5 separate regions of the Homo sapiens genome follow, and all the other regions are linked to region 1. The links are contacts of gene promoters, found by promoter capture Hi-C in blood cells and fetal thymus (Javierre and others, 2016). All regions are on one chromosome and are shown on one strand. The core of a region is centred on a gene start or on the middle of the fragment in contact, and the rest is flanking DNA. Distances in the headings are between cores, read along the strand shown.

Region 1 (6,176 bases), core at 1,723-4,222:
CATACCCCAAATGAACGTCTGACCGTGTTGCTCCCTGCACCCTTGTCCTGAAGTCCAGCCTGCTTTCTCTGTGATAAAGTCACTGATAACGCGTGCCCTAGGATCATGTGTTTAATCATTTAGCATACCATCGTCCTGAATTGAAGCAACCTGGAACAGACCCAAGCACTTTAAACATGTCATTAGTATCAAATTGTCCCTGCAGTGCTGAATCATTAGGTAGGAAATAGTACATGTGTATGTGTCAGTCTGTTTTCTTCCTGCTGATAAAGACATACCAGAGACTGAGTAATTTATAAAGACAATGAGGTTTAACGGACTCACAGTTCCACGTGGCTGGGGAGGCCTCACAATCATGGCAGAAGGTGAGGGAAGAACAAAGACACGTTTTACATGGTGGCAGGCAAGAGATAAGGAGAGCCAAGTGAAAGGGGAAGCCCCTTATAAAACCATCAGATCTCGTGAGACTTATTCACTACCACAATAATCGTATGGTGGAAACTGTCCCCATGATTCAATTATCTCCCACTGGGTCCCTCCCACAACACGTGGGAATTGTGGGAGCTATAATTCAAGATGAGATTTGGGTGGGGACACAGCCAAACCATATCAGTATGTAATTTATAACTGTGGAAGGAATGTAACTTTCTTATAACAATTTTCATAGTTTCAAGTGTTTGGTAAAATGAGACACACAGTAAAGATTTTGCAGGGCAATTAGTAATGTGAAAAGAAAGGATATTTAGGTTCAGGATTCCCAATACACAAATCTTCAACCGGCTGGGACTGGTTTATGAAGGAAGAGCTGTTGAGAGGACGCTTGCTGTAGTCAGGATCCCAACAGAAAGCAGATGGCATGAGCTCAGGGCATGCTGAAGGCAGGCCGGGTTACAGGGGCTACAGGAGACCACTTACAGGTGGCAGCAGCCACAGCGGATGGCCATTCCTAACCCTGTACCTGATAGGGCTGGAGGAGGGGCAGGAGCTGCTGGGCAGGAGCCAAGCCTTCCACAGAAGGAGGCTGCTAAACCCAGCAGCGATCTGGCAGGGAGGGCCGGGGAAGCACTTGCCCTACCCTCACTTTCCTCCAACTCCTATCATTAGTGGCACCCAACAGGAGCCAGAGGGCAAGTGGGACTGATGCAGTTTGCAGAGATCAGCCTCGGGGGGGTGCTTGGGCACGGTGGGCCTAAAGGGTGAATGCAAGATGTACAGCTCAGCACTCCCAGTCCAATCACTGCTTGTGATGACAACCTCCCCTAAACCCCCCCCAGGGCAATCTTCTAGAGAGATGGAAGGTACCAAGTTTGGGATCATGGCTCCTGGGCCTATGGACCCCCGCCAGATATTAGGAAAACCAAGGTGAAGAGGAAGCAAGAGAAGGTTCCTCCCTAAAGCGACTTGCTTAAGTCCCCACTGAAAGGCAGCCCAGAAAGTAGACCCAAACCAAGGGGGGGGGGCGGACCCCCTCGGAAGTTCCAATCTCAGACTCCTCGCCTCAGCACCCTGCAAGCTCCATTCCCTAGCAGCAACTCCCACTCATGTCCCATCTGTGTTCCTCCTGCATGTTGCGCACACGTGTGCATGTGATGCATGTACTTGCGTGTGCGTGTGTGCACCTATGTTGGGAGGGAGAATGGGGGTGGAAAGGAGCCCTCAGCATCCCTTAGAGGCCAAGACTAACCTTGTCCCCTAATCTGACAAGCTGGGAAACAGCACAATACAACTAAAAGTAAATCACAGGTCAGGAAAACACTTTCAGGAAACCTAACAAAGGGATGATGTCTATGTTACGTGAAGAAGTCCTACAAAATGATAAAAATGATTCCAAGAGATGGAGAGTTCCTGCCCAAGACCCAAATAGACAGGTCTTGCACCTGATGAGGCCTACAAAGAAAAAATCCTATGGACAAGACTTTGTCCAGACCTGCAAAGAAAGGATGGGCGACAGGCAGTGAAGAATTACCAGTGTGTGCTTATCAAATGGCAATTTAATACAAACATTCATTACCAGTGATGCTCCTTGGTGAGGTTGTGGTGAAACACATCACCTCACTGTCAGAGGGAACAGAAACCCTTGCGGAAAACAATTTGGAACCAATTTAGAAACAATACAATTTGAAAAAATGTTATGTTCTTGTTCCAGTTATATGGCTCCTAGGAATTTATGGTAAGGATATAATCCCAAAAAAGAAAAAAGCCGTATGAATCCTAATAAAGATGTTCGTTACAGCATTATTTATAGAAGCAAAAAGGTAACCAAATACTATCTTTTTGTAGGCATTTGGTTTAAGTATTTCAGTAGGGGATTGAAATTGGGAAGACTATGTAGCAACATGGAAAATGCTTTAGATTTAGATTTTGTAGATCTCAAGGGAGCAGAACACACAATTATGTGTATGATATGGTTATCAGTGGGTGAAATTTACACACGCAAATGGACAGGCTTGGAAAACAATGGAGCCACAGAGCAGCCACTGTGGTAGGATTAGTTTTTTTGTGTTGTGTTGCACTTGTTGCTTATGTCGCACACGCATGTACATGGTCTATGCAGTACACATATATGCATGTATGTATGAGAGTCAGATATCCGAGTACATATCATTTACTTTTTCCAAACATTTGCCCCTCTACCTCCAGGATCTGCCCACCCCATCAGTGTAACTTAGTAATTAAATCCCAGATGCAGCAGGCTCGTTCTGGTTACCTAGCAGCATGCCGGTGGGCAGCTGAGCCGAGGGGTCTTTCATCCAGTCGTCATTGGCCAGTTCTATCACAGCGTCCACAGGCGTGATTTCAGTGCAGATTAAATCCCTCACTCTCTCCTCATCTTTGGCATCCAGGGCAGACTTTAATCTCTTCACTAAATCTGAGTTGAGTGGGTAGTCGGGAAGGTAATCCGAGTTGGACATTGTTACGTCGTTTCTGCAGTGACCAGCCCTTCTTTTCTTCCTCTAAAGCGACTCCAAAGTCAGCAGCTGTCCGTGAGAGTGGCGTGGGGGCTGCTATAAATAGCAGCACCCTGGCTCCTCTTACAGTCCCTGCGGAGGGCCACCTGCCAGCAGGGAGGTGTGAAGTAATCTTTCCAGAGGCCTCAGCAAAGGATTATTCTAGAGATGGGGGCAGCAGACATGTTTGTGAGTGGTGCAAGAAGGAGAGACAATATTTTCAAAGACAGCTTTCATGGGTATTGTTGAATAATATCTTCTTTTATCAAAAGTGAGGCTCTCTCCTGAAACTTTGAAAACCTCTTCCTGGCACTGGGCTTGGACCTCTATTCTGTGGAAAGGAACATTTTCTAATATTCTACCCCTTGTGTTCCTTCACTTCCTCTAAAAGGAGCGTCTGGTCACCTGCAAATTGGACATGCCTCAAACGCATAGAATGGAATGGAATCTTTGGTTTCCAAATGCAGAGAAGGACTGGCTGATCTCAGGAAGACGGAAGCATCACAGAAAAACAAAAAAAAGTAACCTAAATATTACCTGTGACCTCCCTATGCCTCAAGGCTGGTAAACTTTGCTCAAAGCCTATAATTCCATGACTTGTGGAAGTGTGGAGCCCTCAGGGGGATTTCTGTGCACTCCTAGGGGCAAAGGTGGGGCTTTCTCTCCTTGACCTGTGTCTTCAGTGTGCTTGGGTCTCTGTGTGCCAACCTGTGCATAAGCACAGCTGTGCCTGAAGCTTCTCTGCTGATGCCAAGTGTGCTGTGGTCTCTGAGGGCCCAGGGCGGGCCGTGGAGCTTACAGGGCCTCCTTCGCCTTGCCTTCTATCTCGCCATCTTTTCCATTCCTTACTTTCTTTCTTCTCCCCTGTGCTTAATTTTATGTCTCAATTTGGCTAGGACCCCAGTGCCCAGAGACTTGGCCCAACACTAGTCTAGATGTTTCTATGAAGGTGTTTTTGGGATCAGATTAGAATTTCTTGAACCGGCAGACTTGGAGTGAAGCCGATGGCTCTCCCTAATGTGTGTGGGCCTCCATCAATCAGTTGAACGTCTGAATAGAACAAAAGACTGACTTTCCCTGAGCAAGAAGGAATTCTGGCGGCAGACAGCCTTTGGTCTCAACCTCAGGTCTTCCCTGGGTCTCCAGCCTATCAGCCCACCCTGCTGATGATGGATTTACCAAGTCTGCACAATAGTATGAGCCAATTCTTGAAGAGAAATTCTCTCTCTCTCCCTACATAACTGTTGGTTCTGTTCCTCTGGAGAACACTGACTAATACACCCTCTTCCTCCTTTCAGCTCATTTGTGTGATTTTCCAGCTTCTGTTCCATCTGCACTTGAGGTGCCAGGCACTGTAGTTCCTGCCCAACATCCATTCTCCTTCCACCTGCCCAACACAGCCTGGCTTTCTTGGTGGGGGCACTGTGCCCAGCCCCTGGGGATGAGTCATGTTGATTTAGGTCAGTAGTGTCAGTCCCAGTCTCCTTTGCCTGCACTCAATGTCCAGTCTCCCTTGCAACCCAGTTCTGGCTGCTGGGGTGAGTCTGGGAAGTTATGTGCTTTCCTGATCAAGAGGGACAGAAGTGACTGGCAACACCCTTTCCTGTTCTTGTTTCCTTGAACATGGACATGATATCTGGAGGTGCAGCAGCCACATCACAGCTGGGAGGCAACAGATATGAAATGAAGGATTAACACAGAAAGGAGAGTGGGATGGAAAGCGGGGGAGAGACTGGGGATGACATTTCTGAACCCCTGCCCCAGCTCTGGGGCCCCAGCCACCAGACCTCTTGTCTTTATGCCATAAGCACTTTCTGTGTGTTTTCTGTTACATACAACTGAAGGCATTCTTGGTTGATACAGGTAGTGTATTTACTCTGCCTTTCAATCATGGAAATGTCCTGGTTTTAGTCTAAGGAGGTGCAGGGGGAATGGCTCAGCCAGTGAAGAACTTGAGTTGATCCTCCCAAGCCTTCTATTCTTTGATAATAGTAACGACCTGCCTTCTATGATAAAACCCCAGTGGATTTTGCAATGACAACAGCCAACTCCAGACTCCCCAAGTGGAGGAGCAATGGCACCATAGTTTGGGCTCATGAATGAATAGTAGCCAGCGCCACTGGAGTGACTACCTTTTAGTGTCACAGACCCTGACAAATGGACCCTGATAGAGACATCCTTGGAATCTCTGGCAATGGACTCCTCCCAGAAGGGAAATACGAACTCTGAGGATCTGCCTGCTGTTCAGAGGCTTGACCGAACTGCAGAGTATAATTGGTCTCTGCTTCTTTCTTTGACCAAAGAACTGGGGGTTTTGGAGATTTTTGAGCTTAAATTTCCAAGCACAAATACTTTGCAGCATCAAATATCTTACATGTAGGGAGAAATCTAGCACTAGTACATTTGTGTAGATACAATGACATGAGGGGTAGTGACCACAGGAAAATGATCAGCACTGGGGTAAGGCAATTTAAAGAAACAAAATGAGAATTATTAGAGACTGCTATCAAACTTCAAATCAGAAGGGAGGTAAAGATGAAGCACTTGTTAGGCAGATAATAAGATGACAAAGCCTCAAAATACGGCACTCATGGATCTTAATTACCAAGCTATCTGCTGGGTGTTTAATCAGTGGCACATACACTATGCTAATTATTCCGGCTAATTTCGTTATAATGCAATTCTTTATCAACCCTGCTATGTAAAAATTAGGAATTGAAATGTAACTAACACAAATTATATTTAAGGCAACATGAATTTCTTTATTTCAGCATGAAATCTTCTAGTCTCTATTTCTTTATCTTTCTTTCTGTGATTATCTAATGTCACCCCCTCCCCAACCCAGCCCCCCACAGCCTAAACCATCATTTGAGGAGAAAGGAACCCAGCACAAATATTTCCCCTTTTAACTTCTAGGAAATCATTCGTTTGACTTTCTCCTTCAGCGATTGTCCTTGAAAGGTGTAGAATATATTTAAGCAATCAGTGACAGACGGATCCTAGCTTTCTCTGCATCAGATAAAGGTCGCTTTATTGTTCTATTTTAATTTTTAAATAATCATTGGAGGGTGCCATAATTCATGTATTTTCAGTGATGTATGTAACTTACATCAAGTTGTGTTTACAAATGTGTTTAGATGAGGGCTAATAACACATATCTTGTAGAGAAGCATAAATATTGTCTGGAATTTTTAATGTCATGCAGCTCTGCATCCAAAGAGGTCAGGA
Region 2 (6,176 bases), core at 1,275-3,774, 860 kb after region 1:
AAATTAATTTTAACAACAATCTTATTTAGCCAATCAAAAATATTATTAGTTCAACATGTCATCAATACAAAAATATTAATGAGATATTTTACATTCTTTTCTTTATACTACATCTTTGAAATCCCATGTGTATTTTACATTTGTGGCACAGCCCAATTTGGACTTCCACATTCCAAGTGCTCAGTAGCCACACAACTTGTGCGTATCAGTTGGTGATGGTCTAGATGGTCTCAGATAGTGTGAGGATCCCATCAGTCAGATACCGTTGAAGCCAAGTTCAATAACCACTGATCAAGGCTGTTTTGAAGGAATGTTCAGGCACTGGTTATGTTAGGACAGTTACCAGGACTCCCCTCCCCTTAACCTGTCTCCACCTTTTATAGCAAAAGCAGGAAGAACAGAATTCCACCTGATAGCATCCATCCCCACTGCCCCCATCCATCCAAATGATAGCAGCAAGGGCAAATACACCTCCTGGAGAGATTAGCAGTTTTCCAGGAGTCTTCTAGCTTTTAGTGTGTCTGGGGGATTTTTACAACCCACAATTAAACTCTGCATTGAAAAGCAGGGGGAAGAAAGGCATCTATTGCCTCTTAGCTGAGCAGCCCATGAACTGGAGTAAGTACCTCCTTGTTAACAAATGCCATGCCTGGATTTCCTCTCACCTGAGAACCCTTGCTATCACTGCAGTTGGAGAAAGGTAAGGGTTTGCCGTTTTGCTAGAGTCAATAACTTTTGAGTAATCTGCATCATATTTGTGGTTGAGCAAAGTAGTAACTTTCCTCTGAATTTGTTGCTTCTCTAAGTAAAGGAAGCTTTCAAAATTAGTGGAAAAGATTGTGTAGTTTTATCCAAATATCTAAAGACAAGCTAAAACCAGGGTGGACATTTTATTCATGTAAATGATTGATGACATTCTCCTGGGTCAATTGAGATAGTGGGAAGCCAGGAGTCTTTGGACATCTTTTTAAGAAATGAGTGGACTTGAATGAGCATGTTGTGTGCACCCACCTGACCAGCATATGTGCATCCTGAATGTGAATCATGATTTTTTCTCCTGGGTGGAGCTGCAGGAAAAGATTTCATTCTAAATGAAAGAGGAACTGGACCATTTTTAACTTGTGAGTCACATGATGGGAGGAATTGCCAAAAACAGTTTTGATTGAATAATGTTCTCCTAATTGTGCACCTGCACCTGATCTCTAAGAAGAGCAATTCAGGACAAAGGGCAAAATGCCCAGTGCATAATAATGCATAAGGTAATAAGAACCTCTTCATGGCTATCCTGTGTCGGTTAAATAACATGGTTTGAAAACTGAATTAGGTTGTTTGTGAGGTTGGGCAGTGAATGAGGTCAATCGAGTAAGGTCCAAAAAATTCCAAATCCATTTGGGAGCCTTAAGCCTGTTGGATGTCTCCCCTTATAACCCTGATTTTTAGCAGACTGGTGAACAAGATTTTCAATGTATTTCTGTCATAAAATACAAAGAATGTAAATGGAAATATGGGAGTGTGGCCTCAACTGCCTTAACTTTGCCTGAGGCAATTTAATATGGACCAACTTCAAAAGATTAGGAAGCTTTAGTTTTCAACATTATCTTACATTGTCAACATTATCTTGGCTAAATGTTTTGATGCTGCGTCTGGTGTCTTTCATGTGACTGGAGCTGTGGATGTAGATGCAGGAATCTGTGCAGGGCAGCTTTTCTGTATTTCCACCCATCCCTTCCTCAAGATAGCAGAAGGGCTCTGACAAGGAAAACCAAACACATGGGGTTGATGCTGTGTTTGAAAACCCTCTTGAGTTGAGATGTGTAAAGCATGTGCTTAGCCAGAGCCAAACATCTGCTTGATTCTCACTCCTCGCTGTCACCCGGTGTCTTGTTGTTTACAATGTGCTGCCATAACTCACTTGGTGTGTAGGGTCATTCCTACCACTTCATTCCTTGAATGTCCGATCACCATCACTGCTGGCTGAAACGCAGTCCCTTCAAAGGCTTAAATAAGTCTTTTCTAAGGGCCGAAGAAGTGCTCTTGAGTTATTAGATATTTTTGAAAAAAAGGTTTTCTTCATGTTCTTGCTTTTTAAATAGTTTGTTTGGCCCTTGAGTCGTCAGTTCTTTTGTCATATGAGTGGAATGGATAAGTTTACTAAGACTTGGCAAGGAAGAAAATCTATGGGGAATTAGAGGCTGAATTCCTAATAATTAAGAACAATTTTTAACGTTTATTTTAAGTTGAGGGGTACATGTACAGGTTTGTTACATAGGTAGGCTTGTGTCATGTGGGTTTCTTATACAGATTATTTCATCACCCAGGTATTAAGCGCAGTACCCATTAGTTATTTTGTGAGGATGAAGAGAACAAAAATTATTTAAAAGACCCAGCCAAGGCGTTATTTTAGGGGCTTGTCACACACTTGTCACTCACCAGTTTAAATGATCAAATCCACATGTATGCTAAATTTAAGCAAAAATTAAAATATACAAAACCTAACAAAATTATCCTGGACATCGACTAAGAATAAAAGCCGGTCACCTGCAGTGTTGGCATAAGGGAATGGCTAGGGGGTGAGCAGTGCCATGGCCCCTCTGCTTGGAGAAGTGCAGTGGCTTTAGCTGCAAGCTCCAGCCCTGGTCCAGCCTGTTAATATCATCAGAGACCGTTAGGTTGGCCCTGCACATTCAAACCATGTGGCCCTGCCTTTGACTGCCGCATAGAATGTGAGAGCACCCAGCTCTCATCAGAAAATTAACCCCAAACACTCTGTATCCAGGTTTTATGAAAGGTTCAGTTGTGAAAAATATTCTCAAAGTGTGCTTCCTGGACCACAAGTTGGGCATCGCCTGGAAGCCCCAGTCCAGACACACTGAATCAAATCTGCATTTAACAAGACCCCAGTGATTCTTGAGCACCCTGATGCTTGGGGCAGCAGCTCTGAGGATTTACAGTCTCTCCATTTCAGCCCTCACTGTGCACTTGCTTGGGGCCTGTGCCTCTGGGGCGACAGTATGAGAAGGAGGCAGAGAAAACGACTCGTGTATTCTACTGAAATATGGAAAGGGCTGTGCCCTGTATCACCAAGTAATGTTTTAAGTGAGAAATTGCTCTCTGATATGGGTGTCAAGAGAGGGCCTTGTGGATACTGTGTATCTTACAATTGGTTACTTCCATCATTTTGCCTTGGCTTGTAGAGAGCTCAAACTGAATACAGAGCCCAGCAGCTGTTCACAGGCACGTGGCATTCATTTTCCTTCTTGTTCAACTTGCCAGCTCCCCTTTCCCTCTACTTACTGCCCACACACCCAGCTCTTGTACTTAATTCTCTTTCTCCTGAATGTTTTTTGGTAACTACCTTCCATATTTTTTGTAAAGCAAGTGGGGAAATATATTAATATATTAATGCCATTAATGAAAACTAATGGTCATCTCTGATGGTGATGATGGTGATGTGTCCTCAAGTGATAAAAGAAGCTTTTGTGAGATTTCTCAAAGAACCACATGCTAAATTGCTCAGCCCCAGCCTTTGGCCTTCACGTCCACCCTGACAGCAGCTGCTGGGAGTCAGGTGTGGATATGCCAGGTGCACCAGTAGGTTGTGGTCATTAGTCCTTTCGTCATCAGAAGGGGAAGAGAGACTCCAACTCGGAGAGCTGGTGATTTTTTGCCTGTGTATGTATTGCTTGAATTAAGTTCTTTATTTTAGTTTAGTACACTGCTGTGTTCTCAATATATGTGACTTCATCCTCGCAAAACTATGGGGCTGGGTGTCTCCATTTTGTAAATGGCGGAAGTGAGGTGTTTGCTTGCCTAGGTTCCCGCAGTGGCATGGTGGATGCATCAAGGCAAAGCCAGTGACCTTAGTGGTCTTAGTTCTCTCACCGACTGACACAGAGGAAAGAAATCAGAGAGCTTCCTTGAGCCTGAGGCCATGGATAATAATGATCACTTAGACATGAAGTTTCAGAAAGAAAACAGAGACATCTTGAAATCCTTAGTGTCAAACGTTCAGATGAAAGGAGCATATTAAATGCCTCAAGAATCCCATTCACTGGGCCCAGTAATTTTTCTCTTAGTCATCTTTCTAAAGAAGTAATCTAGGATGTGACAAAACATTTTGGGAACAGGAATAATCATTACTGTGCTACTTAAAAAATTAAAATAACATTTGTAAAGGAGGCAAAACTCAATGGCTTACAACAAAAAGCTGTATTCTCATGCTCATGGGTGAGCACAAGAGCCACGGCTTGGCTGATGGGGCAGGATATGGATGGCTCAACTTCAGCCTAACCTTCAGGGGGACTTGACTCTGAGCTCTATTCTGGGTTCAGTTTTGCTCCACAGCTGTCTGGCCACATTCTTCTCCCAGTGGATCAGCCATGCACTGGAGGGCAAGCTAAACCTCACAGCCCTGTGCCAATCCTCCCCTCACAAGACTGCTGACATCCCATGCTCTGTGTAAGCACAGGAACAAGGGAAAAACCCACAGGGCAGGGAAGTAGACTCCACTCATAATGGGAGACAGGGGCAAGTATATATTTGATGAGTGATCATAGAAATAACAACTGTGATCTAGATTTGCTTTGCATTGGCACACATTGTTCTTCAGTGGAGTACCATGGAAGGGGCTTATTGGTACAACAGCATGGCACACAATTTTGAAATCAGGCAGCCCTGACTTTGAGTTCTTGCTCTGCTATTAATATTGACTAGCTGTGCTCATATATATGTTCCTTAACTGCCACTAAGTCATAGTTTCCTCAATTGCTAAATTGGGTTGTTGTGAGGATTAAATGAGAAAACAATGTGGAGCTCTTAGCAAAGTGATGGGTTCTTAGGAAGCAGCCAATAAGTAATCATAACAGTTAATATTAGTGGTAGCTATTGGAAAGGTATTTGAGATTCAGGGATGAATGAAAATCACTGTAAATCTAGAACCCTACCCTTATCTAAACTATCAATCTCTTTTTATTGAACAGTTTCAAATTTATTTTTGATAAACAATTTTAATATAGTCAAACATTTATTAGAAGCAGAAAAGTCATTGTAGAGCACTTGAATTATATTTAAAAGTTTAGCGGTCTAAACTAGCAATCTAAGATGATTGTGAAATAAAGGCATTTAAAATCCTCCTACTTGCTTATCGGAACTACCATACCAGTCAGGATAAGCTAAGCCACGCTGCGCTAACAAATGGCCTGCAGATCTTGGTGCTTTACACTACTAGCAAATGTTTCTTTTACGCTTCTGCTGCCTGTCCACTGGGGGTCAGCAGAGGCCGTCTTCTCTGTCAGCATCACTCTAGGATGCCGGCCACCCAGCAGCCTCTCTGTGCCACTCAGCAGAGGGAGAAGAGACCTGGGGAGCCACGTGCTGGCTCTTGTTGCTTCTCTTTGGAAGTGACACCGTCACTTTCACATATGTTTCATCAGCCAGAGAAAGTCAGCTATGGCTGGCTCAATAGAGCCAGTAAGTCTAATCCTCCTGAAGCAGAAGCTCTGCAGAGAGAGGAGCCAAATATACTGAACATAATACAGTAGACAAGAGAATGTGTGTGACTCTGAAACCATTAAGGGAGTAAAAGGAAAAAAGAAGGAAACAAAAAATGTGGAAAAAGAAACATGGCCATTAGAAATCACAACTTAAGGAAGTATCAAGTAATCAAAGCTAATGGCCGCTCAATAAATATAAAGAAACTAAACTCACAAAACAGACTCTCATATTGGATGATAAAACAAAATTCAAATATATATACACTTTACAACAGAAACACATAACATGAAATGACAAGAAAATTTGAACACTGAAAGAAGAAATGTTTACATCCCAGATCAAGAATCAACAAAAAGGAAGTGTTACTGTATTACCAATTAAAATAAGCAACCAGATTTTTCCCAAGAAAATACACACTTCACCTATATTCTCAAAATTGTTGGCAAAAAGTTAATCATAGTTGTGGTAGGCAGAAAAATGATCCCTAAAAGGATGCTGACACCATAATCCCCAGCAAAGAAGCCCACGACATTAGGACTAAATAAAAATGTTAACCAGGAAGACATGAGAATTTAAAATGTGCATTATTATACAGTATGTTATCAAATAAATGAAGGAAAAAACTCACAGAATTACAAAGAGGCACTGACAAATACACAATCATAGTTGAAATACTTGTCTCA
Region 3 (6,176 bases), core at 2,341-4,840, 810 kb after region 1:
CCGCTGTATCCCAGCACTTAGTGAAGTGTCTGGCACTCAGTAGGTGCTTAATAAGAAAATGGCTCCTGGAAAGAGAAGAACAGACCTGGGTGGGAATGAGTAGAACTTGGAATGGGGAAGTAGGCAGAGTGGATCCCAGTGTGGAGTCCATTTGAAATTGAAAGGGTTATCAGGAAGAACATGGATTCACAGTGTGGCCTCAGATATTCTGCTGTGACTGGGTATAAAGCCATTTCCAGGCTGTCTCTGGCACTGATCCCCAGGAGTTTGGACATAACTGGGGTGAACACTCATTGGTGCTGTGGGGCCTCCTCAATCTGTGCAGTGCTGCTGAGAACATGGGCTTTGGAGTCAGAGAGCCCTGAGTTTAAATCCCTGAGACTTGTGTGACCTTGGGTTAGTTATCTGACTTCTCTGAACCTCGGTTCTTCATTTGGTGTCATGAGTATTGCAGATGAATCAAATGAGGTAGCTTAATAAATGGTCATTCAAATCCAGCCGAATCCAGTTTAAAAAGCATCCTCAACTCTTATCAGACAGGTACCTCCCAGGACATGCAACAGCCTCAAGCTGGTTCCTGTCGGCCCCTCCTATGGCCATGGAAGTTTTCTATAGAGGCCAGGGACTCAGTACCCCTGGGGCTCACACACCCCTTTGAGAAGGCCATGAACGCTGTGTAAAGTTATGATGAACAAAAAGTCTATTTCCCCGGGAACCTGCAGTAGAAGCGCCTGGCGTTTCTGTAGGGACCGGACTGTGCTCCCTGCAGAACGCCCTTCCTAGCGCAAAGACCTAGCGGTGCCCAGAGGAAAGCCTTCCTGATACCTTCCCCTCCTACTCTCCCGGGAACTTCATCCAGTTTTTCCACGGATGCTTCGGGCTGATCACGACCTTTCTCCCAGCCTCACGGACAAGGACGAGGTCCACTCGGATTGGACAACCTGATTCAGGATGGAGCCAAGAAGGGGATGCAGCGCGAGGAAGCCTGTCAAGACTTAGACAAACATACAGCACCTGGAAAGGGACTCCCCGAAAGCACACTTAAAGGGACTGCCACTTAAAAAGTAATTTTTGGGGAAAGAAAAAATAAAGAGAGGAGGAAAAGTTAGGCCCAACCCAAGGCCTGTCCGCTTTCCCTCAGCCAGTGGGAAATTAAGGATCCTGCATGGTGCCACAGCGCCCCCTGGTGGGAAAGACTGAGATTGCACTGAAGATCTCCAGACATCCATGTCTGGCTTTACCCTCTCACCTCTACTTGGGAGGGAAGAACATTGGAAATTATTTCCCAAGACTGCATTCCCTCAAGTTAAGTATAATGCTTGATTTCCACTATCAAAGGTAAAAAAGACATGTCTTAAAACCCTGTGTGAATAAGGTCGTGGGACATCCCAACCTAGCATTCCTATAATTAACAAAAATCACCATTTATTTGCCCACGTCCTGAGCCAAGAATAATCTAACGCAATGCTTAAGACAGCCTTACCATGCAGCCTGTCTGTTAACCATAGTTTTACAGGTGCAGGCATAGACTCGGAGAGGGGCTATGGCCTTGCTCAAGGTCACGCGGTCAGTGCCAGGATTCTCAAGCCTGGGCTCTCAAACGCATCGCTATTAACTGCCTAGGAAAAACATGACCGTCTCTGCTTGGTTCCCTCAAAATACATGATTAATTCTTTTTGATTCCCAACATTGTTATGTTTCTTTTCTCACTGAATATTGACTTTCCATTAAGCAACTCCAAAGCCTAGTTTTTCTAAGAAAGTATAAGTCATCCCTTTGAGAAAGCTTACTGATCACATACTGTTTTCAAGGTGGCTGGGCTAGGCACTGTGGGAAAAGTCCACTGGCGGGAGGCTCCCAATAACCTAAGGTGACTTTGGTGACTCTGACATAAGGCTACGCTGAGATGCTCCAAGCTTTGAAATCAATGTGTGTCGCTAGTATAAGAACTGGATTAGGCTTGGGGGGTCACTGTGATACAGACGGGCTTGGGTGCAAAGTGTACTTGGAGTTGGAGAGCTCTGAGTAAGCAGAAGGCAGGAGAGGGGAGGGACGGGCAATGCTCAGGATTAGGGCCCCTGATCAAGCACACGGGACGTGGCAACCACAAGAAATCTGGGGCAAATAATTTGGTAGCAGCCTTCATTTTAGCACAGAAATGCCGACAAGTTTCTTCTTGCACGCCCACTCTGATCTTTTGGTAGAAGCAGGCTGAAGTTATTTGTTGGGAGGACTCTGAAGCCATGCCCAGGCTCCACGGGAAAGTCAGCTGTGATTGACTAGAAGAGAGCTGCCTGCACACAAGAAAACTATGCAAAAAGGCTGGGCGTGGAGGAAATGACCTAACACAACAGGAGAAAATCCGAGAGAACGAGATAAGAGTACTAGAGCCTGAACCCAGTGGGAATGGATAGGGTTCTGAGTGATTCTGTGGGCATGGAAGAATGTGGAAGATAGAAGTAATCAGCATAAACAAGTAGGAAGTATTGCAGGACAGAAAACAGATGTCTCAGGCAGACAGATGATACTGGGGAGGGCAACTATAAAGAGAGAAGGGGACTCCTTGGAGGTCAACATGGCTGTCCTGTCCCTGGCTCTCCTGGCCCGGCCCCTGAACTGAGATCCAGGAGAGCAAGTTATGAGGGGAGAGCAGCATCTGGACATGCTTTTGTCCTCTTTGTCAGAATTGCCATGGGAGCTGAAAGCATCTGCCCAGCTGATATGCTTTGGATCTGTCCCGCCAAATCTCATGTCTGATTGTAATCCCCAGTGTTGGAAGTGGGGCCTGGTGGGAGGTGGTTGGATCACAGGGGTGGATTTCTCATGAATGGTTTAGCACCATTGCCTTGGTGGTGTTCTCGCGATAGTGAGTGAGTTCTCCTGAGATCTGGGTGTTTAAAAGTGTGTGGCATCTCTTCACTCTCTCTTGCTCCTGCTCCCACCATGAGAGACACCTGTTCCCCCTTTGCCTTCTGCCATGATTGTAAGTTTCCTAAGGCTTCCCCAGAAGCCAAGCTGATGCCAGAATCATGCTTCCTCTACAGCCTGTGGAACTGTGAGCCAATTAAACCTCTTTTTTAAAATAAACCACCCAGTCTCAGGTATTTATAGCAGTGTGAGAACAGAATCATACAGGATCCCACTGCTTGAGTCATAGAAGGCAAAAGGAAAAGAGCAAGAGTGGATGGAAAACAAGGAAGGTAAAAGCAAGGTGAGATCCTGTGCTCAGGGAATAAAGTAAAGAAAAGTGAGCACACTTAGCATTCATTCAACAAACATTTATGCAACGCCTGCTATGTGCAGTCCTCATAATACAGCAAGCTTCATTGAGATCACAGAATTAAAATAAAACTAGAAATCAAAAGCATAATGACCTGTTCTATATTTCCACTCACGCCGTTAGCCACGACATATGTCCTGACTCAGGAAACAGCTAATGAGTGTGAGAGCGGCCTTCAATGATGTCATGTGCCTGGAAGCCACCCTGCTCTAGAAGCACCATCGCTCTGCTCTCAGGTCGCTGCCTGCCTGTGCTCTTCCTCCATGCTTTATTTATAACCCCTTTGCCTTTGCCTCTACCACTGCCATCATTTTTCACAGCTTTTCTTTATTCCTCCAAATTTCCCCTAACATGTATCTGCCCTTAGCTCCAGGGCCCTTCTGAAGTTTTGCAAAAATGTTCTCTTTTATTATTCACTTGCCAACACAAGCATTAGTAAAAAGGAGGAGAAAAAAAAGAAAGAAAAGTGCCCTATTTTTAAAGTTTGAAATGTTAAAGTTGTCTAAGATTAGAAGAACAAAATCTTCATTGATTTTATAATATTGTAAGGAGATACTTTTCACCCATAATCTAGCTCTTTAAGCTTATCGTAATGTTCATTTGCATGTTTCCTTTCAACATTTCCCCAAAAATCTAGTCTGGGTTATGATATATAATAACCAAGAGGTATACACAATATTATTTTTCATGTTTTTTCAAAGTTATTTCAGAAACACTACTTTTACATAGACTTCATATTTATGAATTTAATAGCTATTGTACTTTATGCTGCTGTCCCATTTTTAGCTGTAGCTTATTTCCTCTTTTTAATAACTTCCTCAGGATAACTTCCCAGAGCCAGAACACTAAGTCCAAGGCTAAGTCTGTTTCATTGCCCTCATTGTGTATTGTTACCTGGCTTTCCAAACGGGTAGCATCTACTGCCACTGGGGATGACATTGCCAAGAGATCCATTGGAAAATTCGCTGGTCATGGACATCAATGTCCAATGGCAATGGTCCAATGGCAGCATCCCCCAAACTCCAGTTCCTCCAGAGGACAACTCATCAGAATTAGTAATCTCCTCTAGTCTGCTGAATGTTCAATGCCTCAGGAATAATAATAATAATAAATGCATCCCATTCTTTCCCTATCTGTTCTCACCCCAGTGACCCCTGCTCCAAGAGGCAGCCACTCATGCTGTGGGGCAGGGTTGGTTTCCACCCTAAGCAGAAAGCCCAGGACTCCTGGCCACAAGGAGGGCTGGCTCAGGGCTGGCCTATTTCTGCAGCTGCTTTCCAGCAACTCTGACACAGACCCTTTTTGGCAGAGCCATCGTCATCGCCTGGGGCCCATCTTCTAGCCTCAGGTCCTGCGGCCTCCAGCCAGGTGAACCATCTGGAAATCTTTCTCACTGATATCCATGAACTCTCCACCTCTTGCCTGCCTGCCTGGCTGGACTCTAAACCTGATACACTTCATGGCTGCAAATGATCTGTGTTTACTTTTCTTCTTGTGGGTTTGGCAGGGGCTAATGTCACATTCCTCTCTTCTGTAGGTGACCTTCCTGCCTGGGGCTTCCGGGGCTTGGTGACACATGCCCTGCAGCACAGAGGCCACTCTACCATCACTGGGGCCCCAACCACACAGTCACCAGACTAGGTGCGCTGAGTGTCTTCCATTTGTCCCTCCCATCCACTCTCCATGCTCTCCTCCCCATTATGCCTCAGAAGGCCAGCCGTATAAGCAACTGCTGCAGACTTCCTGCCCTCGGCTTCCGGCTGGGCTCAGCCAATGGGGATCCCCCGCAGGAGGTCAGAGGGAGAGATGGTAGGAAGGTCCTCTGAGTATTGATTCCTCACTCCCTCACTGCCTGGCTGGCCCTTCAGTGAAAGATCAGAGTCCCAGCCAAGCAGTCTTTGCTGGGCTCTACTAAATATTCCCTCCAATTGTCTTACAAAAATTCACCCACTGAAAGCTTCCAATTGTACAAACATCACCACAATAGAAGTTTAAAATATTTTCATCACTTTAGGAGGCTGAGGTGGGCGGATTGCCTGAGCTCAGGAGTTACAGATCAGCCTGGGCAACATCGTGAAACCCTGTCTCTACTAAAAATACAAAAAATTAGCCAGGCATGGTGGTGCATGCCTATAATCCCAGCTACTTGGGAGGCTGAGCCACGAGAATCACTTGAACCAGGGAGGTGGAGGTTGCAGTGAGCTGAGATAGTGCCACTGCACTCCAGCCTGGGCAACAGAGTGAGACTGTAAAACAATAATAATATTTTCATCACCCCAAAAAGAAACCCCAGATCCATTAGCAGTAATTTCCTATTTCCCCCAAACATCCCAGCCCATGGCAACCACCAATCTGCTTCTCTCTATGGACTTGCTATCCTGGACACTTCATGTAAATAAAATCATACAATACGGGCTTTGTGCATCTATCTTCTTTCACTTAATATATGTTTTCAAGATTTAACAATATTGTAGAATGTATCAGCACAGCATTACTCATTACGGGTGAATAATATTTTGTTGCATCGATATACCACATTTTATTTATTCAATCGCCAGTTGATGAACATTTGGTTTTTTTCTTCTTGTTGGCTATTATGAATTAAGCTTGCTATGAACATTCACTTACAAGCATTTGTGGGGATATACGTTTTCCTTTCTCTTGGAATGAAAGTGGAATATACCTACAGAATACACCTACGAGTGGACATATGGCAACTCTATGAAAACTTCTGAGGAGTTACCAGACTGTTTTCCAAAGCAGCACCATGGTATAGTCCTTCAGCAGGGCATAAGGGCTCTAGTTTCTCCAAATCCTCACCAACACTTGCTGCTGCCTTTTTATTATAACCACCCAAGTAGGTGTGAAGTGCTATCACACTGTGATTTTGATTTGC
Region 4 (6,176 bases), core at 2,722-5,221, 770 kb after region 1:
ACAAAGGTCAGATCGTTTCCTATTTAAAAGCTTCTCCTGGCTCCCCATGTCACTCAGAAAGCTTGTTACCATGGCCCAGAGACCCCTCTGACCCCACGTTCTAACTCACCTCCCTCCACTCCCCTCACTCTGCTCCATCCTGTGGGCCCCCGAGCTCCCAGCTCAGGGCCTTTGCACATGGCGCAGCCCCTTCCTGAAACTCCCCTCCCTTGCAGAGCTGCATGGCTTACTCCTTTACTCAACACAGGTCTCTCCTCAAATGCCACCTTCTCAGGAGGTGCCTAGGACCAGCCTGTGCCAAGTCACCTTCTCCTTGCTCTGCTTCCTTTCTCCATGCACCAATGCCATGTGGAGTGCACACACTACATACAACACCTTGAGGGGTCCACACACAACACTGTGTCAGTTATACACACAACACCAGGTGGAGTCTACACACAACACTATATGGGGTATACACACAACACCATGTGGGGTCTACACACAACACCAGGTGGAGTCTACACACAACACCATGTGGAGTCTACACACAACACCATGTGGAGTCTACACACAACACTATATGGGGTATACACACAACACTGTGTGGGGTCTACACAGAACACCATATATAGTCTACACACAATACCATGTGGAGTCCACACACAACACTATATGGGGTATACACACAACACCATGTGGGGTCTACACACACCACCATGTGGGGTCTACACATGATGCCATGTGAAGTCTACACACAGCATGATGTGGAATCTACACTAACTTGTTTATTTGCTTGCTGTATATCCGCATCCCCCCCACACATCACTAGAACTTAGGTGGCACGAGGGCAGGAACTTGGATGTGTTCACTGCTGTAACCCCAAATGACTGCTGAATGAATGGAATGAATGAACACAAAGCGTCCTCCCCAGCTGCACATCTAAAGCAGGAGGAGCCCCTCTCAGTTGGCCCCTGGGGTGCCTGTATTGAGTTTCTCTCTGTGGATGCCAACCATACATGGCTGATGACGCTCCTGACAAAGCCCAGTGGAGGTTTTGGTTGCCTATTTCCCCTCTTTTTTAAGCTCTGTACCAAAATTGATTCAGATCATCAGATACAGGCACCCTGTTCCTACTTTGTTAACTTTTCTCCAAAACACTTCATAGAACCCTGAGTCAACATCCTAGCTACGGCTCCTATGGAAGTTCAAAGCAAGAAACAAAATTATGTCCACTTTTAGAATAATTATGTGAACTTTTTGTTCTTAGTAAACTGCTATAAGCTTAAAATGCATCAGCTTTCCCAAGCTTCCTATCTGGCCTGCTTACTGTGTAATTGCCATTTTTAATGGTAACATATTTTAACTGTATCACATCACTCTAGTAGAAGAGATTTGCAGCAATATTTACTTCTTTGGTCATATTGTTATCATGATGAATAAACGGGTATGGTAACATCAGAAGATTAAATTCTCTCTCTTAATGGAAAATTAACTCTGAAACCAGACATTCTAGAATTTCTGTTTCCTGGAGCAATGGTTCCTGATTTGTGGGCAGCAGAGCCCTGGGGGACACTCCAAGCCCCATCCTTCTTCAAGGAGTCTCGCAGTCATTGTAGGCGCCAAGTGCCTCCTGCATACTAACTAACAGTCTTGTGCACCAAGGCTTGACTGTCATGTAAATGTGTCCTCACAGGACTTTGAGATCAACAAGTTATGACCTCACATATGCTTTTGACAGTAGGTATTTTTCAATCAAACTGCACCTATTATCATGCAGAAGGCTCTCAAATAGCTAACCTCAAAGGGATCTGTGTGCTCTATAAAATTTAGAACAGCTTCTCCATAATTTGGAGTCTTTAGGAGAATACAATATATTCTAATGGAGATATTTATCATCAGAAGTTTACAAAGACATATGAAACAAAAGCTCAGTTGCAAGACATTAAGAGACAGTGCAAATAGCAAGCAATTAACTAGGAATTTTCTTTGGTCAAGTTTCTTCCCTGATATGAAACTCACTTCATGTTTAGCTTCCCCTGTTCTAAAAATCCAGCAACACTACAATAAGTTCACTCTCTGCATTCACTTCATACTATGTTCCTAATGCTGCACTGGCAACTTTGCTGCTCACTTTTAATTAAAGCACAAGGGTTGTGGGAAAAACGACTTCTGCAGGCATTGTAATCACTCTGAGGGACTGCTTTATCTGTCCTCTAACTCTCTATGTTGGCCTCTGAATAAAGCTGCCCTCAAATGGGTGGACAGTCAAGTACTCTTCATGGGGGTCTTAGTTCTAGAAGGCACAGAGATGACGTATGTGGGAATTCCAAACACAGGCAGGAAGAGGGAAAACACATGGAAGTGATTTTAGTGCCTAATTTTGGCTATCTCTATACAAGTATGACAAGATCGAACACATCTGAAAGAAGGAATCGGCACTGACATTTTATATCAACTCATTTAAGAGCATTGCTAAATTCATCGCAACCTTTGATATTCAAGACCCATAAATATCAAGACGTGTGCGTGTGTCTATGTGCATGTGTGTGTGTTACAGATACAGACCTCACCATTTCACCATTTGTGCATTGCTGCAACTCTGTCGAGCTTGGTTTCAGCCTTATATAACCCTGGTGGGAAAACTCAACTAGAGTGAGGCAGTGGCTTCTCCACCAGGGTGTGACAGTGGAGAACCAAACAGATAGGTAGAAGTATGGACCCAGCCCCTCCCCTTTTCTCAATACAGGCCATTTTCATCAGTCTATCTAATTTGTTTATGCCTTTATCCATGTATTTAGGTGTGTACAAAAGTTGGGCTGCTAAAGAAGTTTGAAATCCACTGCCCTCATCTACATTTTCACTGATGCATAAATAAATTGCTTTATTTGAGTCAAAATGCATTTATTTTGTGAGGGATTAAAAGGCCAACTATATTGCAATTAATTCTAGAGCCTATTTTTGTTTTAAGAATGAACTAATGGGGACCTATACATGTTGCAGCCATCCAGGTTTTTTTTTTTTTTTTTTTTTTAAGCAATTAAAGCAGCAACACAAATCCCTTGGTGTCCTGGAGAAGATGGGGTGGGTCAGAGGAGAAGCAGCACAGGTGGTAGAATCCAGGGACCTGGCCCCACCCAAGTCCTCACCCTAGTACACTACCCCAGTGGCCCTGAGCAAGCATTTGATCACTGCCATTATGTCTGCTGTGCTGGGGGTGGAGGAAATGGGAATGATATCGTCAGTACTCCCAATGCTAAAGGATGGTTGAGAGGATCAGCCTGATCTACAAGCTTGTTTTCAATTAATATTTTCAAATATAAGTTTGGGAGGGGAAAAACATTCAAGCCAAAGCATAGGATATACCTGTTTAATGAGAAATACATAATGAGAACATTAGGATGATCACAAGAGGGGCTTCATATGGGGTCTAAAACAGAATTAAATTCTAGCAAGCTAAAGATTGTTTCCGGACGGGCATGGTGGCTCACGCCTGTAATCCCAATACTTTGGGAGGCTAAGACAGGTGGATCACTTGAGGCTAGGAGTTTGAGACCAGCCTGGGACACCTGGTGAAACCCCAACTCTACTAAAAATACAAAAATTAGCTGGGCGTGGTGGCACATGTCTGTAATCCCAGCCACTCAGGAGGCTGAGGCACGGGAATCACTTGTACCCGGGAAGCGGAGGCTGCAGTGAGCCGAGATGGCGCCACTACACTCCAGCCTGGACGACAGAGCAAGACCCTGTCTTGAAAAAAAACCCTGAAATATAAAAAGTGAAAGATTGTTTTCCTAAGGAAATCAAAAAGAAACAGTCATGGGGTTATGTTGCTAGGAAAGGAGGAAAGTGAAGGCAATTTGTCACCCTGAGAAAGAATGGACTTCTGCTTGACATCTCTAGCTCTGTTTTTCCTTTGTTCTTTTAAATAAATAAACAAAACATAAAGAGAGGAAAGCCCAGAATTCCAAAATAATTTAGCATAAGCAAAGGGAGACAGACTCCAGAGAGACCCACAGTCGGCTTCCCAGCCGGCCCTCCGAGCTTGTTCTCAACTTTTCCTGATACCTCCGCCCTGCCCTGCTGCCCCCACAGCTCTTTCTGCAAAGTGTCAGGGACTCCACCCTCGGGAGGGTCTCACTTTCCACATGAGCGGCTCCTCTTCGCATGTTTCCTAATTGGACCTATTTAAATCAGGAATCCACTGCCTTGTGCAATTAGGCATCTAATAATTGTTCAAAGTTGATGGTAATTTTTATAAGTTTGCCAAGGTCATTTAAGCCTAATGAACTTGAGTTCAATCCAAACTCTAAGTAATGGCTCATTTACAGTTTGGATGTGTTCAGTATACAGTAAGTTGGTTTTTTCTCTAACTGCACTGGTTTGCTAAGATATTTCTGACAATAATTTTTTAGTAATGCCCTTTGTGGAGTAATGAGATTCTGAGACCATGGCCTTTAAGATACTTGGGTAAGGTTTACTTATGTAACTGTATTGTATCCTCCGTACAAGCCTTTTTATCCCTTATTTTTTTTCTCATTGTTTTTTCTCATTGTTTCCTTAGAATATTCATTTTTTCTTCATTATTTTTTCTCATTGTTTCCTTAGAATATTCATTTTTTTCTTTTTTCAATTTTATTTAACATCATTATGTCTTTTTTCCTCCACCCTATGGAAGGTACTTTTTACACAAAAGCTTCTGTCACTAACTATGATTGGAAATGTGACATCCAGTGTGAACATTTATCTTAACAGAATCATTAATTTACAACAAAATGCTAAATACCAGTCCCCTCCAGGAAACAGTGAAGCAGACTTTGCATTCCTTAGCTTTTTTCTTATAAAAGATATTTTAGATCCATTTTACTGCATGAATCATTTCTCTTCCAAATCCAATATGTTAAACGATTTCACAGTATAGCACTTATCAAAACCTACATCCTGGCCAAGTGCAGTGGCTCACATCTGTAGTCCCAGCACTTTGGGAAGCCGAGGTGGGCGGATCACCTGAGGTAAGGGGTTCGAGACCAGCCTGACCAACATGGTGAAACCCCATCTCTACTAAAAATACAAAAATTAGCCGGACGTGGTGGTGCATGCCTGTAATCCCAGCTACTTGGGAGGCTAAGGCAGGAGAATTGCTTGAACCCAGGAGGCGGAGGTTGCAGTGAGCCGAGACCATGCCACTGCATTCCGGCCTGGGTGACAGGGTAAGACTCTGTCTCAAAAACAAAAAACAAAACAAAACAAAACCCTACATCCTGTGCCAGGTCCTAGAATGATTCCACAATAGTGGTGGTGTCCCCTGCTGGGTTTGACCCTGTTCTTTATTTCAGCTAGTGTCCGCAGCAATGACTCTCAGCAGATGCTTGTCACAGCGGAGGGCATGTTTCATGCTAGCAGCTGCACTGCATTTGATGTGCAGGACAGCCCTAGGAGGGTTGCTATTCCCATTCTACAGATAAGGGAACTGACGGTCCAGAGTCACATAGTGAGAGCAGTGAAGCCAGGATTTAGACTTCTGTAGGTCTGAATTCGAACCCAGTCACTGCACTGTACATGTACGAGTTTCCTCTTTCAACCACATGGAACTGACTTTGTAGACTCTCGGGAAGCAAATAAGTCTGACATGACCTCCTCACTTTGTCCATTAGTGCTAGCAAAGGTTTCCTGAAGTTGCAAAGCTGATTCTTGCAGCCTCATGGGCACCCATTTGAGGGGGTTCACCTAGGCCCAGAACCCCCTCCTCCTGGTGGGAGCCCCATGGACCTCCCCTCCGCAAGGCCTTTTAGAAATCTGAGAGCAGAGTTCTAAGCAAGAATTCAGAGAATCGTCTCCCAAACCCAGAAAGGCCGACTTATCCACCCCAGGGCATCTGACCTAAATTCCAACCTTTCGCTCAATTCTGAGCTCTAGAGACTACCTTGATTTTAATTAATGGAAAAGACAAAACAGAACAAAACAGCAGACCTGCAAGAAGTAAGAACTCCCTTCATGGAATGCTTTGTCGCCTTGGGGATGCTGGATGCTATTTATACCCCCATTTTTAATCATATCTTTAAAAATTACTGATGAAGTTTAAAGCATTCACCTGATGGCATGTCAGCACCTCCAAATGCATAATCTCGCCTGTGTCAAAGAACTGGGGAGTCCACCCCATCAACCCCTAGGATGCTGGCTGACTCAGCGTCAAGCAG
Region 5 (6,176 bases), core at 989-3,488, 720 kb after region 1:
CTCTCACCTGGGTGATTTCAAGGGCTTCCCAATGCCCAATCCAGCACCTAATCTTAATAGACACCCAAAGTATTTGCTGAGTGATCTTACTGTTTCTTCCTTTAAAAATCTTGCTAATGATTTTATTTTCTACAAAGGTAACCTTTCTTCTCTAATGTCATCTATCACTTGAGACAGTAGAAAGATAATTAGACCATGGTTTGATATGGGGATGGAGTAAAAAGATGGGATTTGAATCCTGTTCTGCTTCTCACTTGTTTGGTGACCTTGGATATCTCTGAAACATGATAATCTCATCCATAAAATAGGGATCATAATAGTCCTATCAAATAAGGTATTGTGAGTATTAAATGAGTAACTCTACGCTGGGCCACTTAATAGAATATCAGGTACAAGGAAGCCCTCAGTGAAGGTTAGCTGTCATCATCATCATCATCCTTGTCATCGTTGCCATTGTTGTTATCTTATGATTATTAGGTCCCTGCTTTGCTAATCTTCAATTATGTAGCATGGCTTCTTCATCTAGATAACAGAAGTAAGAATGATCTCTTCCTAGGATGCTTGGAAGAGTGGGATGAAACAAATTTGTGAAAAAGCTTGATCAACATTGGTCCCATCTACAAAGACTGGGTCACTATTACTCTGATGGTCCTCATAAGTCTCAGGCTCTCTGACATTTAAAACAGATTTTGTAAATGGAGAGAAGTCAAGAGTGATTTAGATAGAGGAGGGGATGGCGAGTCCTCTAAATAGAGATAGAGACTTACAAATATGTATCCCCAGAGCATTGCTTCACTAGATCCCCAGGACAACTCTCCATGGGAGATTTATTAACCCCTTGCGCAAATGAGGAGAAGAAAGCTCAAAGAGATCAAGGAACACACCCAAGATCACAGGACTAGTAAATCACAGATTCCAGGTCTGTGTGTGTCCCAGCCCCCACTCCTTCCCCAGCCTAGCTCTCCACTTTCAACCTGAGGAATGCTCTAAATCTCTAGATTCATACAGTAACTTTTGCACAGTTTAAAAACCAGAAATTAATTCCGCGCCCATGGGAATGCTCTCAGAGCGGAGATAATTCTGCAACATATCCTTGTGTATATTTTCAGTGCATTCCGATTTCCACCTGGTTTGGAGCTATAAGTCAATCTTTTAGCCACTAAGCTAAATTCCCAGGGTGCTCTTAAGATACAGAAATTCCAGCAGTAAATAGCAAAGCTGTTAGACAAGATTAAACTTGCCAAAGTGATTTGAGCCGCACTGAGAAAAATGGACCCCCTTGAAATGATATGCTATCAGCCAACAGTAACATAACCCTGGAAACAAACCTTTTAGTTTATAGTTCAACAAGCAGCACACATGGTTAGGAAGGGGACTTGGCTGAAGTCTAGCATCCACAGAGGGTGCAGAGGGTGTGGAAAATGTGAGCTGTACGTCATTTACGTTTCTCTCTTTTCCTGATTAAATGATCATGTGGGGAATTCCTTGATTTTGACATTTGAAATCTACAGAGCCTGTCTGGGAGGTGAGTAATGATAGTATAACTAAAGATTGTGATCAGAGAGGGGGTCAGAGTGTGATAAAGGGGGAATGATATGGAGACAGATGAAGGATGCAGGTGGGGGAAGATCGCAGGCACTGGGAGGCAGTTCCATCTCCATTTCACTCCATTGCTCTTACAACAACTTAAAAATGGAAAACAAATGCTATGGAGACTTCATTTTTCTAAGAAATTGATTCAGTTAAAAAAAAAAAAAAAAAAACCCAAGGTGTGCTTACCCAGGTCAGTATTTTCCCTGTTGAGACCGAAGCAACTGAGGGTTGTACAACACACTCAACTGCTTCTTGAGGCCACTGTAGTTTCCATGGGCAAAAGCAAACAGTCCTGAGCAAATCCCACATGACCTGTTCCATTCTTGACTCTTCTATTTACCTTTGTTTTTGAAGAAGCCCAGACACTAAGGCGACATTCTCATAAGTATGTCACTTTAGCTGAGGAGGAATAAACTACAGTGCTACAGCCAGGTGCCTGATTCAATCACAAAATTATTCAGACACCTGGGGCAATGCCCAGCTGGCAGGGCTACCTGTTTGTTTTTCTTTTCAGCTTGTATTTTGTATTGTTGCCAGCCTTGTGTTTTAGAAGCATTGAGGGCACTTAGCATTTATTTAGTCTTGGTTCCCACAGTCTTCCACCAGAAGCCCACCCCACGTGTAGGCGCGGGCGTTCAGGCGGGCTGCTGCTTGCTGGGAACCACGTTTCTCAGCCTGACTTGTTCTCTCTCTTCCTCTCCTAGAGGTTCAAAAGTCCATTTCCAGTATTTCCCATAGAAAAGTGCTCCTAATATCTGAAAGTATGCTATTTTAGGATGCAAGTAGATCTTTGTCCTTCCTGCTTGGTGGAGATGAATTGGGGCACTGTTCCTGAGCCAGTGGCCTCTGTGAACACTGGAACACTGCCTGGGTGTCCACCCTCATGTGGAGAAGCCATGGGGACAGCTGCAGAAGAGAGTACCCACCTGGGCAGGTGAGGTGACCAACGCTGGACAACATGCTTCCCCGTCCACTTGACTTCTTTGCATCTTGCACTGAGACACAGCCCTCCAAGGGAAGCAGCAGCAGTGAACTGCTTTGTGGCACGATGGCCTTCCATGGAGTCTGAGGAATTCTTCTGGAAGATAAGGGGCTGGAATTCCAATTCCCATTGGCACTACCCCATGCAGGTCTAATACCACTCATTGGGCGATAGTTCTTTGTATTTCAGTCTGACAATACCGTATACAATAGGCTGCTCGGGCTGCCATTCATCCGCCCTTGAAGGGGGAAATTCCTTGAGGTGCTTCAAAGGGAGTTTACACTGATAAATGAGCATTTCAGGAGGTGTGGGAAGAACGCCTGGTCCACGGGCGCCATTGTCAGCATTAGGTGAGTAAGGAGAGCGAAGGTGACATCTGCGGCAAAGTGTCCCAGCAACACACGGCAGGCAGGGACTGTTTTCCTCACCTGCCTTGGCATTGGCTGCAAAACTGAGGGACCCTAAACAGGTACAATTCCTGAGACTGTAAAGAGGGTCAGTGACCCGGTGACTGCCCTTACCCCTCCCACCCCGAGTCCAGGAAGACTGTGTCTCTCCAAATGCCCAGGTCAGCGTCTCCTCCTATTAAAGGGTCTGGAGGATCCTGGGAGGGCAGGATGGGGGGTGTGGTCTTATCAGCCCAGGAGCCTGGGCGCAGCTTTGAGGTCAACTTGTTGTGAGTCCTTGAGCCAGTCACATAACACCCTGGGCTGTAGGTTTGTCATCAGAAGAAGTGTGATGTCTTAGGGCCTTGCTGGTGTGACATTCTAGGATCCTAGGCGTTTGCTGTGTGTCAAATGCATGCATCACAACAGGACAAATGTAGGACCAACCCTTCTGCAAGGAGGCACTTAACACTCCATTTCAGGTGAGCTCTAATGGGAATTTCATTCCTAAAACCTTAGAAGCAAACATGTCTGTATTTCTGTTTGTTAAGTGCATTCTAAACCAATGGGCTGGCCAATGGGCATAAGAAGGCCATGATATCTCCCAACATTCTAGACACAAGAGAAGGTTTTGGAACCAAGTGGGCAGCTGGACCTTAGAGCCAGTGGCCCTTTGGAAGGATGCCAGCCTTCCTAGTTCCAAGGAAACCCATGTAACAGACTGCTGTTTGCAGGTACACATGTTAGAGATGAACACAGTGATCAGCCTAGGACTTTGGGTGTCTGGATCTCAAACCAGATTCTTGCTTGCCGAGTGTTTATCAGAGCGTGTCAATAACAATTTGAAATGAATGATTTTCTCCCACTGTCACATTCAATATTTACCTTTGGAGAAAAGCAGGGTCAGTTCTCTCCAAAAGGAAGCTTAGTTAGTACAATTGGGTATTTTACGGAAAGACGTCCTTAAACTGCACCCCTTAGAAAATGGTAAGGGACTTTAATAGGGAAATGCCCCCTTACCCAGTGTGGCAAGAAAGCACTTGCCACAATCATTTCAGTCATCAGTTCTAAGTGACTTCAGCATTTCCTCATGGCAAGAACAGCGGGCTTGTTGCACAACTGCACTTTTCCTCACCTCTCTTTGGGTTCCTGTTGATCTTTTTTTTTTTATTTTGTATTTTGGAGACGAGACAGTCTGTTCCAAGTTCTGAGTTGGGGACGGTAGCAATTCTCCATGACCAAAACACTCTGCAGCTGCGTCCTTTGGAGCAGGGAACACGAGCTGCTTTGTTGACCCCTCTTCACCCCAGAGGCGTGTCTTCTAGGTTCAGTCCAGGATGCAGCCTGCCAGTCATTGGTCAGGTCACAAATATGTGCAGCACACAGCAAGGTCCTCCCTGTGACCGGCCGGTGTGGCTGTGTGCTGTCTGTCACCCCAGCGCCCTGGACCTCAGTCTGCAGAGAAGCAGCTGTGACAAGCACAGAAAGGCAGGCACTGGTGCCTCCTGTCGAAGCCCCCAATGCACCAGCAGCCCTCGTGTTAATTTAAGAAGTTGACTGAACAATCTGGCACAGTCGCTGGAAACTGAAGAAGGTGGGAAGAGGCTAAGCAAAACCCTTGCTTAATTAAAAGCATATCTGCAAAAGGTCAGGCCTGGCAGGAGGATGACAAAGGCAGTCAGAATTTTAAAATCAAGTCATTCTCTCTTGCGAGATTTCTTCCAGACCCTGATGGATTAGGGATGCTGGGTTTTCTCTTCCAACAGAGCCTGCACAGCTGAGTCGGGGTGAGCCAAGTGTTAGTTCCTTCGCTGTTTTCAGAGAAGTAGGACTTCTTCCCCTAAGGTGACCCCACTCCAACCCCAGGGCAAGAAGGAGGTGACTCTTAGTAAGTGCCAGCCCTCGTTCCCTCTGGAAACCTGGGGTAGATGTGGAAAGCACGTGGTGAGCTCTGTGGGGGCCATGCGACTTTAGGATGCTGTGCCTTGGTTCAAGTGGCTTCTTTAAGAAATCACCAAAACTAGATTCCTGTTGCAGCTAACGGAATGGGGAAAGTGTGGGCTCAGCAAAGTGAATTCTTTGTACTGACTTGATAACCACCTTCACCTTTTTGAGGCCGGGCATGGTGCCCCACACCTATAATCCCAGCACTTTGGGAGGCCGAGGTGGGTGGATCACCTGAGGTCGGGAGTTTGAGACCAGCCTGTCCAACATGGTGAAACCCCATCTCTACTAAAAAAATACAAAAATTAGCTGGGTGTGGTGACACACATCTGTAATCCCAGCTACTCGGGAGGCTGAGGCAGGAGAATCGCTTGAACCCTGGAGGCGGAAGTTGCAGTGAGCTGAGATCGCACCACTGCACTCCAGCCTGGGTGACAGAGCGAGACTCCGTCTCAACAACAACAACAACAACAACAAATCACCAAGACTGGATTCCTGTTGCAGCTGATGGAATTAGGAAAGTGGGGGCTCAGAAAAGTGATTTTTTAGTACTGACTTGATAGCCAGCTTCACCTTTTTGAGAAAAGAACTCTAATTCCAGAAGACCTAACCAGCGCCAATGGGGAAATGGCAAGAGGGTAGATCCACAATAAGCAGAGCTTTCCCGCAGCCAGCTTTCCCGTATTCAGATAGGAAGCAGCAGGCAGCGTGTCAGCCTCTTCCTCCCCTGACATGCTGGGAGAGGGCATAGAAGCCCATCTCCTGAGGACATTGAAGAGGGGTCCTAACATGCGGGCAGGGGAAGGGGACTAGGTTAACATCTGCCTATGAGTTCAAATTCTTTGATTCTAGATTATCACACAACAGTCTTCAGAAAATGTCTATTCCTCAGAAGTTAGAAAACAGTTGTTTTGTACAAAATATACAATTGTATATTTTGTGTATTGTATATTTGTATTTTGTTACTTATTTGTGACATGTATTTATGAATGAGAATCCTTTTGTTAAAGCAAAAGCATTTGAACACTCTCTGCTGGTCTGAGAACTTCATATTTCTTCAGTAAATCATTATAATCTGAGCACACGGACAGCATCCTTGCTTCTGGCGCCAAGAAGTACAATCAACTGGTGGAGAGTGTTTCTTAAATGAAAGTGGTGTTTCCAGTTGGCAAAACAGATTATTTTTGCTATTAAAGAAATTGATTTCTTAACACATGTGATTAATTATGTCTGTAAAACAGAAAATCCATCAAAGACAAAATGTTTTTCCC

The links. The method cuts DNA at HindIII sites, captures the fragments that hold promoters and counts their contacts. A CHiCAGO score of 5 or more calls a contact.
Region 2: a fragment that was not itself captured here is called in contact with the fragment with the promoter of ASB18 in region 1 in 1 of 17 cell types (neutrophils); the score reaches 6.6 in neutrophils.
Region 3: a contact is called between a fragment that was not itself captured here and the fragment with the promoter of ASB18 in region 1, in 1 of 17 cell types (endothelial precursors). The highest score is 5.9, in endothelial precursors.
Region 4: a fragment that was not itself captured here is called in contact with the fragment with the promoter of ASB18 in region 1 in 1 of 17 cell types (naive B cells); the score reaches 5.4 in naive B cells.
Region 5: a fragment that was not itself captured here is called in contact with the fragment with the promoter of ASB18 in region 1 in 1 of 17 cell types (total B cells); the score reaches 5.9 in total B cells.

Annotation. Positions count from the first base shown.
Region 1 is chr2:236,261,434-236,267,609 of GRCh38, forward strand. ASB18 (ankyrin repeat and SOCS box containing 18) reads right to left here and starts at 2,973. Exons shown (of 6, transcript NM_212556.4): 1 at 2,708-2,973. The coding sequence starts at 2,912. The HindIII fragment of the contact is 4,209 bases long and covers 1-3,682 here.
Region 2 is chr2:237,117,132-237,123,307 of GRCh38, forward strand. No RefSeq gene overlaps it. Among named protein-coding and RNA genes, the nearest start is that of COPS8, 34 kb to the left of the region's middle. The HindIII fragment of the contact is 1,895 bases long and covers 1,578-3,472 here.
Region 3 is chr2:237,071,346-237,077,521 of GRCh38, forward strand. The region is part of intron 1 of COPS8-DT (COPS8 divergent transcript); the gene reads right to left. Among named protein-coding and RNA genes, the nearest start is that of COPS8-DT, 11 kb to the right of the region's middle. RefSeq lists an enhancer at 4,285-4,854. The HindIII fragment of the contact is 542 bases long and covers 3,320-3,861 here.
Region 4 is chr2:237,032,117-237,038,292 of GRCh38, forward strand. The region is part of intron 1 of COPS8-DT (COPS8 divergent transcript); the gene reads right to left. It overlaps LOC105373950 (a long non-coding RNA gene), which reads left to right and starts at 4,558. Exons shown (of 3, transcript XR_007088140.1): 1 at 4,558-6,176. The HindIII fragment of the contact is 1,403 bases long and covers 3,271-4,673 here.
Region 5 is chr2:236,984,745-236,990,920 of GRCh38, forward strand. All of the region lies in intron 1 of COPS8-DT (COPS8 divergent transcript), which reads right to left. Among named protein-coding and RNA genes, the nearest start is that of COPS8-DT, 98 kb to the right of the region's middle. The HindIII fragment of the contact is 3,289 bases long and covers 595-3,883 here.